Linked DNA regions of Homo sapiens: region 2 is linked to region 1. Evidence: promoter capture Hi-C in 16 types of primary human blood cells and fetal thymus (Javierre and others, 2016). All regions are on one chromosome and are shown on one strand. The core of a region is centred on a gene start or on the middle of the fragment in contact, and the rest is flanking DNA. Distances in the headings are between cores, read along the strand shown.

Evidence for each region. The method cuts DNA at HindIII sites, captures the fragments that hold promoters and counts their contacts. A CHiCAGO score of 5 or more calls a contact.
Region 2: the fragment with the promoter of SHISA7 here is called in contact with the fragment with the promoter of TNNI3 in region 1 in 15 of 17 cell types (total CD8 T cells, activated CD4 T cells, naive CD4 T cells and 12 more); the score reaches 13.0 in total CD8 T cells.

What each region holds. Positions count from the first base shown.
Region 1 is chr19:55,155,307-55,159,551 of GRCh38, reverse strand. TNNI3 (troponin I3, cardiac type) reads left to right here and starts at 1,820. Exons shown (of 8, transcript NM_000363.5): 1 at 1,820-1,973; 2 at 2,244-2,256; 3 at 2,419-2,502; 4 at 2,908-2,949; 5 at 3,220-3,351. The coding sequence starts at 1,963. DNAAF3 (dynein axonemal assembly factor 3) reads left to right here. Exons shown (of 12, transcript NM_001256715.2): 11 at 1-19; 12 at 103-887. The coding sequence ends at 490. It overlaps DNAAF3-AS1 (DNAAF3 antisense RNA 1), which reads right to left and starts at 243. Exons shown (of 4, transcript XR_007067345.1): 1 at 107-243. RefSeq lists an enhancer at 2,042-2,629. The HindIII fragment of the contact is 18,804 bases long and covers 1-4,245 here.
Region 2 is chr19:55,441,361-55,445,605 of GRCh38, reverse strand. SHISA7 (shisa family member 7) reads left to right here and starts at 2,306. Exons shown (of 4, transcript NM_001145176.2): 1 at 2,306-3,413. The coding sequence starts at 2,743. RefSeq lists a silencer at 3,403-3,492 and an enhancer at 2,986-3,614. The HindIII fragment of the contact is 48,275 bases long and covers 1-4,245 here.

The sequences.
Region 1 (4,245 bases), core at 571-3,070:
TGATTGTGGAATTAGCCCGGTGAGTCAGTGGGGTGGAGGGTGGGGAACATCCTGGCTGGGGATCAAAATCTGGGTCCCTGACAGGGCGCTTCCCATCTGCAGGTACCTGGTGGACGTGCGGCAGGAGCAGCTGCAGGGATTCAACACCCGGGTCAGGGAGCTAGCTCAGGCAGCTGGATTTGCTCCACAGACCGGGGCCAGGCCTTCAGAGACCTTCGCACGTTTCTGCAAGTCCCAGGAATCAGCTCTGGGCAACACTGTCCCAGCTGTGGAACCCGGAACTCCGCCCCTTGACATCCTGGCCCAGCCTCTTGAAGCCAGCAACCCAGCCCTTGAGGGCCTGACCCAGCCTCTGCAGGGTGGGACCCCACACTGTGAGCCCTGCCAGCTGCCCTCTGAGTCTCCAGGTTCACTCTCAGAGGTTCTGGCTCAGCCTCAGGGGGCCTTGGCTCCGCCCAACTGTGAGTCAGACTCCAAAACTGGAGTCTGACCCAACCCCTAGACACCCCTTATCTCCAACTTCCAAAGTCAGGTTGTAGGATGAGAACCCGCTGATACCATTCTAAGTCCGCTGCTAGAGTCCTCAATTTTATTCTAATCATTCCCACTCAGTACCCGCCACCCCCACCCCGGGAGTGTTGGTAGACTTTCAAATTCCATTTCTGAGATTCTATGGTCTATTCCTAGAATTCTAGATTGTTCTCTCAGAATTCCAAATTCCACTTCTGAGGCTCTAAGCCCAGCCTAGGATCTGACACTGAGTCTCAGGCCCTTGACTTTGGCCCCCTTGTTCCCAGGCACCCTGTGGCTGACTAGGGGCTGGGGTGTCTCCTCACCAGGGCCTGGTCAGCACCCAGATGGTTCAAGTAAAGCAAGTTGTGTCCACCCTTCTGTGTGTCCAAGCGTCTTTCCTGTCCTATGTCCGTCTCCAGGGCTGGGAGAGAAAGGCCCAGGAGTGCTGGACAGAGGAAGCCAGAAACCAGATTCCTGGGTTTCCAAGTGGACGAGGGATGGATTTCCCAGTGCTATTGACTGAGAGCTAGCCCCGAGCACAGCTGCATCCTCAAATTAATCAACAACATTTATTGAGTGGCCTGGACTCCTGGGTCTGAGGGGAGAGGGATTGGGGTCCTGGACTCCTCGGTCTGAGGGGAGAGGGATTGGGGTCCTGGACTCCTGGTCTGAGGGAGGAGGAGCTGAGGGTGCAGACTCTTGAGTCTGAGAGAGGAAGTGTGCTGGGGGCCTGCCTGGACTCCCTTGTCTGAGGGAGGGGCTGGGGGCCTGGACCCCTGGGTCTGAGGGAGGAGGGGCTGGGGGCCTGGACTCCTGGGTCTGAGGGAGGAGGGGCTGGGGCCTGGACTCTTGGGTCTGAGGGAGGAGGGGCTGGGGCCTGGACTCTTGGGTCTGAGGGAAGAGGAGCTGGGGGCCTGGACTCTTGGGTCTGAGGGAGGAGGGGCTGGGGGCCTGGACTCTTGGGTCTGAGGGAAGAGGAGCTGGGGGCCCAGACACTTGAGTCTGAGGGAAAAGGGGGCTGGGGGCCTGGACTCCTTGTGTGAGGGAGTGGCCAGGGTCTCCCAGGGTCCTGGGACTGAGGGAGGAGGAGGTTGGGAGGTCGGGCATTCTCTGGGTCTGAGGGAGGAGGGGTCTAGGACTCCAGGATCAGAGGGAGGAGGGTCCGGATTCCTGTGCCCGGAGGTGGCTGGTGATCCAGCTGGAGCAGGGCCCACCCCGCCCCTCACGCGCCCCCGTTATCTGGCATAGTGGGCAGGGGGAGGAGGAGGTGACAGTATATTTAGTCTGTGTCCTCGCCCTTTATCTCAGTGTCCTCGGGGAGTCTCAAGCAGCCCGGAGGAGACTGACGGTCCCTGGGACCCTGAAGGTCACCCGGGCGGCCCCCTCACTGACCCTCCAAACGCCCCTGTCCTCGCCCTGCCTCCTGCCATTCCCGGCCTGAGTCTCAGCATGGCGGATGGGTGAGTGATGCCCCAAGGCAGTGGGAGTTGGGGGCGACCTCCCGGGTTCCCAAGAGGGGTCGCAGCTGAGAGGCTGGACCCTTGGCCTGCGAGGTAGGCGTAGGGACTCTTGGGTGAAGAGAGGAAGTGGGTTTGCGAGTCAGACTCCTGGAACCCAAGGAAGGGGAAGCGCGGTCCCCCGACCTCTTGTTCAGAGGGGACTCCAGGGGTCCCTTAGGAGACAGGACACAGCCCACCACTAACCCCCCTCCTTGGTTTCTCTCCTTCCAGGAGCAGCGATGCGGTGAGAGCAGCGGGCTAAGGCGTGGCTGGGACCCCCAGGGCCAGGGTGGGCGCTGCAGTGAGGGGTCTGGGGCGGGAGGCTGCAGCCCTAGCAGAGGGTGCGGTACGGTAAGGGCTGGGTGGGGTCTTGGTGGTGATGGGGTCCCCACTCCTCCTAACCCAGGCTAGGGAACCTCGCCCTGCACCAGCCCCAATCAGACGCCGCTCCTCCAACTACCGCGCTTATGCCACGGAGCCGCACGCCAAGGTGGGACGGGGCTTCCTGGGGGCAGAGTACAGGCGCCGGAGGGATCCAAGACCCTGGGAGTGGGGGGAGGAGCCAGGGCTGCGAAGGGGGCGGGGACTACGCGGAGGGGCTTCAGGGGCGGAGTTTTGCAGAGGGTCATGCTCGGATTGGTGACAGCAGCCTGCGGGCGGAACTCCGTTGCCCTCGGACTTGCTTAGGGATAGATGGGAAGTGCCTATCCAAAGGAAGAGACCCAGATTGGTGGATGGGAATGAGGGGCGTGGCCTCCCGTAGACTCAGGGCTCAAGTTGGACGTGGGCCCAAATCTGGACCGGCTGGGTTTGCTGGGGGTGTCTTGAGGTCCCCTCCACCGTCGTCTCCGAATCCCCCTCCATGATCCTTCCTTGCTCCATCTCACCCTGGCAGAAAAAATCTAAGATCTCCGCCTCGAGAAAATTGCAGCTGAAGGTGAGGACGGGCGGGACTGGGAAAGAGCAGGCAGGTGCTCAGGGGGCGGAGCTTGAGAATGGGTGGGGCTTTCGGGGTAGGTGGGCGGAAGTGGGCGGGGTTTGGCCGCTCGGGGCGTGGCTTTAGCGGGGAGTACTGCTCGGGGTGGGACGGGGCCTTGGAACAGTGGAGACCAAACTGGAGGGTTTAGAAGGGCAGAGGCGGTTCCCCACGCCTGGTCTTTATCCTGAAGCCCCGGGTGGGCTGCGCTTCCCTCCCACCCCTCTGCAGACTCTGCTGCTGCAGATTGCAAAGCAAGAGCTGGAGCGAGAGGCGGAGGAGCGGCGCGGAGAGAAGGGGCGCGCTCTGAGCACCCGCTGCCAGCCGCTGGAGTTGGCCGGGCTGGGCTTCGCGGAGCTGCAGGTACCGGCTCCCAAGGATGCGAGGTTTCTAGTCCCGGAATTCAGCAGTACAGCCTCTATCCCCTCTTCTGCTCGGGACCCAGGCGTCCAATATGGCTGTCCTTACCCAATTATATATGGTTCGTGGGACTCCTGGCCCCTAACACCCTTTGTGTGCAGGTCTGTGGAGTCTTGGCTCCAACCTACTCCTTCAGGACCATGTGGCCCTCCTATCCCAGACAGAAGCCCAAGCCCCAGCCCCTCCTCCCTCAGACCCTGGAGTCCAGGCCCCAGCCCCTCCTCCCTCAGACCCAGGAGTCCAGTCCCCAGCCCCTCCTCCCTGAGACCCTGAAGTCCAGGCCCCAGCCCCTCCTCCCTCAGACCCTGGAGTCCAGGCCCCAGCCCCTCCTCCCTCAGACCCTGGAGTCCAGGCCCCAGCCCCTCCTCCCTCAGACCCTGGAGTCCAGGCCCCCAGCCCCTCCTCCCTCAGACCCTGGAGTCCAGGCCCCAGCCCCTCCTCCCTCAGACCCAGGAGTCCAGTCCCCAGCCCCTCCTCCCTCAGACCCTGGAATCGAGGCCCTCAGCCCCTCCTCCCTCAGACCCTGAAGTCCAGGCCCCAGCCCCTCCTCCCTCAGACCCTGAAGTCCAGGCCCCAGCCCCTCCTCCCTCAGACCCTGAAGTCCAGGCCCCAGCCCCTCCTCCCTCAGACCCAGGAGTCCAGTCCCCAGCCCCTCCTCCCTCAGACCCTGGAGTCCAGGCCCCAGCCCCTCCTCCCTCAGACCCTGGAGTCCAGGCCCCAGCCTCTCCTCCCTGAGACCCTGGAGTCCAGGCCCCAGCCTCTCCTCCCTCAGACCCTGGAGTCCAGGCCCCAGCCCCTCCTCCCTCAGACCCTGGAGTCCAGGCCCCAGCTCCTCCT
Region 2 (4,245 bases), core at 1,057-3,556, 290 kb before region 1:
TTTTTGTATTTTTAGTAGAGACGGGGTTTCGTCATATTGGCCAAGCTGGTCTTGCAAGTGATCATATTGGCCAGGCTGACCGCAAGTGATCCGCCCACCTTGGCCTCCGAAAGTGCTGGGATTACAGGCGTGAGCCACCGCGCCTGGACCAATTCTAGTTAACTTTTTAAGGAACCGCCAAACTCTCTTCCACAGTGTGGGGTCAAGCCACTTCTAAGACTCCCATTAAACACCCAGGAGGAAGTGTCCAGTGGGCAGTGGGGTATTCTAGCACCGAGTCAGGGGAGGGGTCCAAGCTGGAGCTGAAAAGGAAAGGTGAGGCCCCAAGCAGGAGGGCGATGGAGCTCACTGAGGCTCTGGAAGGTTCACCTTCCAACCCTCTGCCCATCCCCACCAGCAGCAATGTTGTTGACAGTGGTGTGGTCCCTAGACACACACACGATGGATGGTGGCATATAATAGAAAATAACACCGAGTGATATTTATTGACTCAATCCCATCCACCCCCTCCATCCCTTTATGCTGCTTTCATTTCTTCACGGCTTCCTTCATCATTCCTTTTTATTTCTTCACAATTGGCGTCAACATGTGTCCCATTCATTTGTGTCCATCTGCTGACTGTCCCCCCTCACTAGCACGTAAACCCCCGTAAAGGCAGGAACCCTGTGGGCTTACTCACTGCTGCATCCTCAGCCCAGGGAGGCTGCTCAGGAGACATTTATTGAATGAAGATTTGCAGAACGAATGCACACCCCGCGCATCATGCCTGCTCCTGGGAAGCTCTATGGCAGCCTCTCGGCAGCTAGCTCAGGGCAGGGGCTGTTCAGATCAGGTTCTTGCAGAGAGGAAATGTAAGACTCCGTGGGCAGTCACCCCAGACCCCTGGGGGGTTCCTCCTGCAGGTAGAGCTCAGACGTTTCCTTCTCCCGGAACCCGAGGCCAGGCATCCTTCCCACCTCTATCATCCCTCTAGGTCCACGGGGGTGGGCGTGTCTGGGACTTGGCTGGACTGTTGCCATAGAAACAGCTGGAAGACGTGCCCACCACCACCACCACCAACTCCCACCTCTCTTCTGCATCACCTTTTCTCTCTCTTTTGAGACAGGGTCTCACTCTGTCAACTCAGGCTGGAGTGCGGTGGTGAAATCACAGCTCCCAGCAGCCTTGATCTCTGGGACTCAAGTTATCCTCCCACCTCAGCGTCCTGAGTACCTGGGACTATAGGTGCGCACGACCACGCCGGGCTAATTTTTTTTTTTTTTTTTTTTGTAAAGACACGGTTTTGCTGTGTTGGCGAGGCTGGCTGGTCTCCTGCTTGAGCAATTTGCCCACCTTGGCCTCCCAGAGTGCTGGGATTTACAGGCGTGAGCCGCCGCACCCGGACGACCCTTTCTCAGCCTGTATCTCCCTTCTGAAATAGCAGCAGCAGCAAACACTTTCATATTTCACCTGCAATATGCCAGGCACTGTTCTAAGCTCTTTACACATATTCCCTCAGTTCATCCTCCTGACCACTCAGAGATAACCATCCTTATCCCCATTTTACAGATGGGGGACTTGGGGCACAGGGAGCTTAGATAAGAGCCTGTCAGTGTCAGGCAGCTGGCAGGAGGTCCAGTCGGCAGGGGAACCACCCTGCTGTGGTTGTGGTTCAGCTGTGGACAGAGACCCTTCAAACCCGACGCCGTAACAGTGGTGTGTGTGTGCGTGTGCATGCCAGGGAGAGAGAGAGAGAGAGGGAGAGAGAGGGAGGGAGGGAGGGCACCTAAGATCCCTTGATTATCAGATCTAACTAAGGGAGAGAAATTGGCATTTCGGGGCACTGAGGACCATAGGGGTGTAAGTCAGTGGTTCTCCACGGGGGCAGCTGTGGCCTCCTCCCACCAGGGGAACATTTGGCAATGCCTGGAAACATCTTACATTGTCACAACTCGGGGGAATGTGGTGCTGCTGGCATGGAGAGGGCGCTGCTAAACATCCTACAGCGCTCAGGACAGGCGCTCACCACAAAGCAGCATCGGTCCCCGAATGTCAGTGTTGAAAAACCGTGCACTGCCTCTTCCCACTTGCCTGGTCTATAAACTCAAATTCTCAACTTCTCTCTCTCCTCCTCCCTCCCTCTCCTCCCCCTCCTCCTCCTCCCCTTCTTTTCTCCCTCCTTCCCCGTCTCCCTGACTCCTCCTTTCCCACCCACCCCTCATCTGTCTCGCTTCCTTCCCTCCCTCCGCGGTCCCCACTCCCCTCGCCACCCTCCCCTCCCCTTCGCGCGCCTCCCTCCAGCTGCCTCCCCTGCCCTCTCCTCTTCGCCGCCCCCGTTTCTTCTCCTTACATCGCGCCTCGCCTCGCTCCTCGTCCTAATGTCTGCACACCCCTCTGGTGTCTGTCGACCCTCCCAATCGCTTCTCCCGCATTCATCTCTCGCCTGATCCCGGTTCTGTCCGCCCATGCTCATTTCTCTCCCCCAGCCGTGCCCGGGCGCGTTTCCATTACTCTCCCATCGTCGCCCACCGCGCGTGGGGCGGCCAACTTGGGCCCACGCAGCTCAGCTCCCTCCGCCCTTCCTGCCTCCTGGCGCCTGTTGCTCCCCACACTCTGCCGCCCCCCGCCCGCCCTCCCCAGCCTCTCTGCCCACCCATCTCTACGTTTCTCACCCTCTGACCGTTTCTCTCCCGCCCAGCGCTCCAACCTCTGCTCTCGTTCTCCCCGCAGCCTGGCGGCCCAGTGCGACCCCCTGCAAGCCCCATGCCGGCCCTCCTGCTCCTCGTACTCCTGGCCTCTAGCGCCGGCCAGGCCAGGGCGCGCCCGTCCAACGCCACGAGCGCCGAGCCCGCGGGCCCGCTGCCCGCCCTGCTGGCGCACCTGCGGCGCCTGACCGGGGCGCTGACGGGCGGCGGGGGCGCGGCGAGCCCAGGCGCCAACGGCACCAGGACCGGCCCCGCGGGCGGGGCGGGCGCGGCGGCCCGGGCGCCCCCTCCCGCCGAGCTCTGCCACGGCTACTACGATGTCATGGGCCAGTACGACGCCACCTTCAACTGCAGCACCGGCTCCTACCGCTTCTGCTGTGGCACCTGCCACTACCGCTTCTGCTGTGAGCACCGTCACATGCGCCTGGCGCAGGCCTCCTGCTCCAACTACGACACGCCGCGCTGGGCCACCACGCCGCCGCCGCTAGCTGGGGGCGCCGGGGGCGCTGGGGGTGCGGGCGGGGGGCCAGGGCCCGGCCAGGCCGGGTGGTTGGAAGGGGGCCGGACTGGGGGTGCCGGGGGCCGCGGGGGCGAGGGCCCCGGGGGCAGCACAGCCTACGTCGTGTGCGGGGTCATCAGCTTCGCCCTGGCCGTGGGCGTCGGCGCCAAAGTGGCCTTCAGCAAGGCGTCCCGTGCGCCCCGGGCGCACCGGGATATCAACGTGCCCAGGTGCGTGTGCTCTCGGGCGGGAGGACTGCGAGCCTGGGGCGGGGCCCAGCAAGGGAGGTGGAGCCATCCGAGGAGGAGGGGCTGCAGGGATAGGGCGTGGTGGTCAGAGACCCAGGTGGCGGCCGCCGGCGTAGCTGAAGGTGGGCAGGGGCTGAGAAAGTCGCGCCAGAGCCGGCCCGGCTGTTGCGGAGTGATGCAGGGAGAGGGAGAAGCCCAGACTCTCATTCATTCGACACATATTTCTTGAGCACCTTCTGTGGGCCAGGAGCTGGGGATACACCAGTGAACAAAACAAGGTCTCTGCCCTGGTGGAAAAGCCTGACTTCCAAATCCAAGTTCACAGCCTACAGGCTATGTGACAGTGGATGAGTTGCTTAACGTCTCTGTTCCTCAGTTTCCTGTCCGCACAATGAGACTAATCATCGTCCCCACCTATTCGGATTGTAATTAACTGAGTTGATTCGTGCAGGGTCCTGGCACACGGTAAGGGCTCATTAACTATCAGTGGCCCAGTCCGTAAGCATGTGCAGTGTAATTTTAGATGACTGCTGTGAAGAAAATCAGCGGAAAGTGTTGAGAGAGAGGGCGCTGGATTAGAGGAAGTGATCCGAAAAGGCCTCTGAACGGAGACCCGAAGGGAGGGAGCGAACCACGCAGAGATCTGTGGGCGAGAGGTTTTGGGCAGGGGAACCGCGTGCAAAGGCCCTCGGTGGCCTGCAGGGCAGGGAAGCGCCCGTGCAGCTGGCGGCGGTGGGCAGCAGGAGGTGAGGAGAAGTAGGCGGGCCCGGGTTTATCCTAAGTGTGATGGGGCCACTGCAGGGTCCTGAGCTCG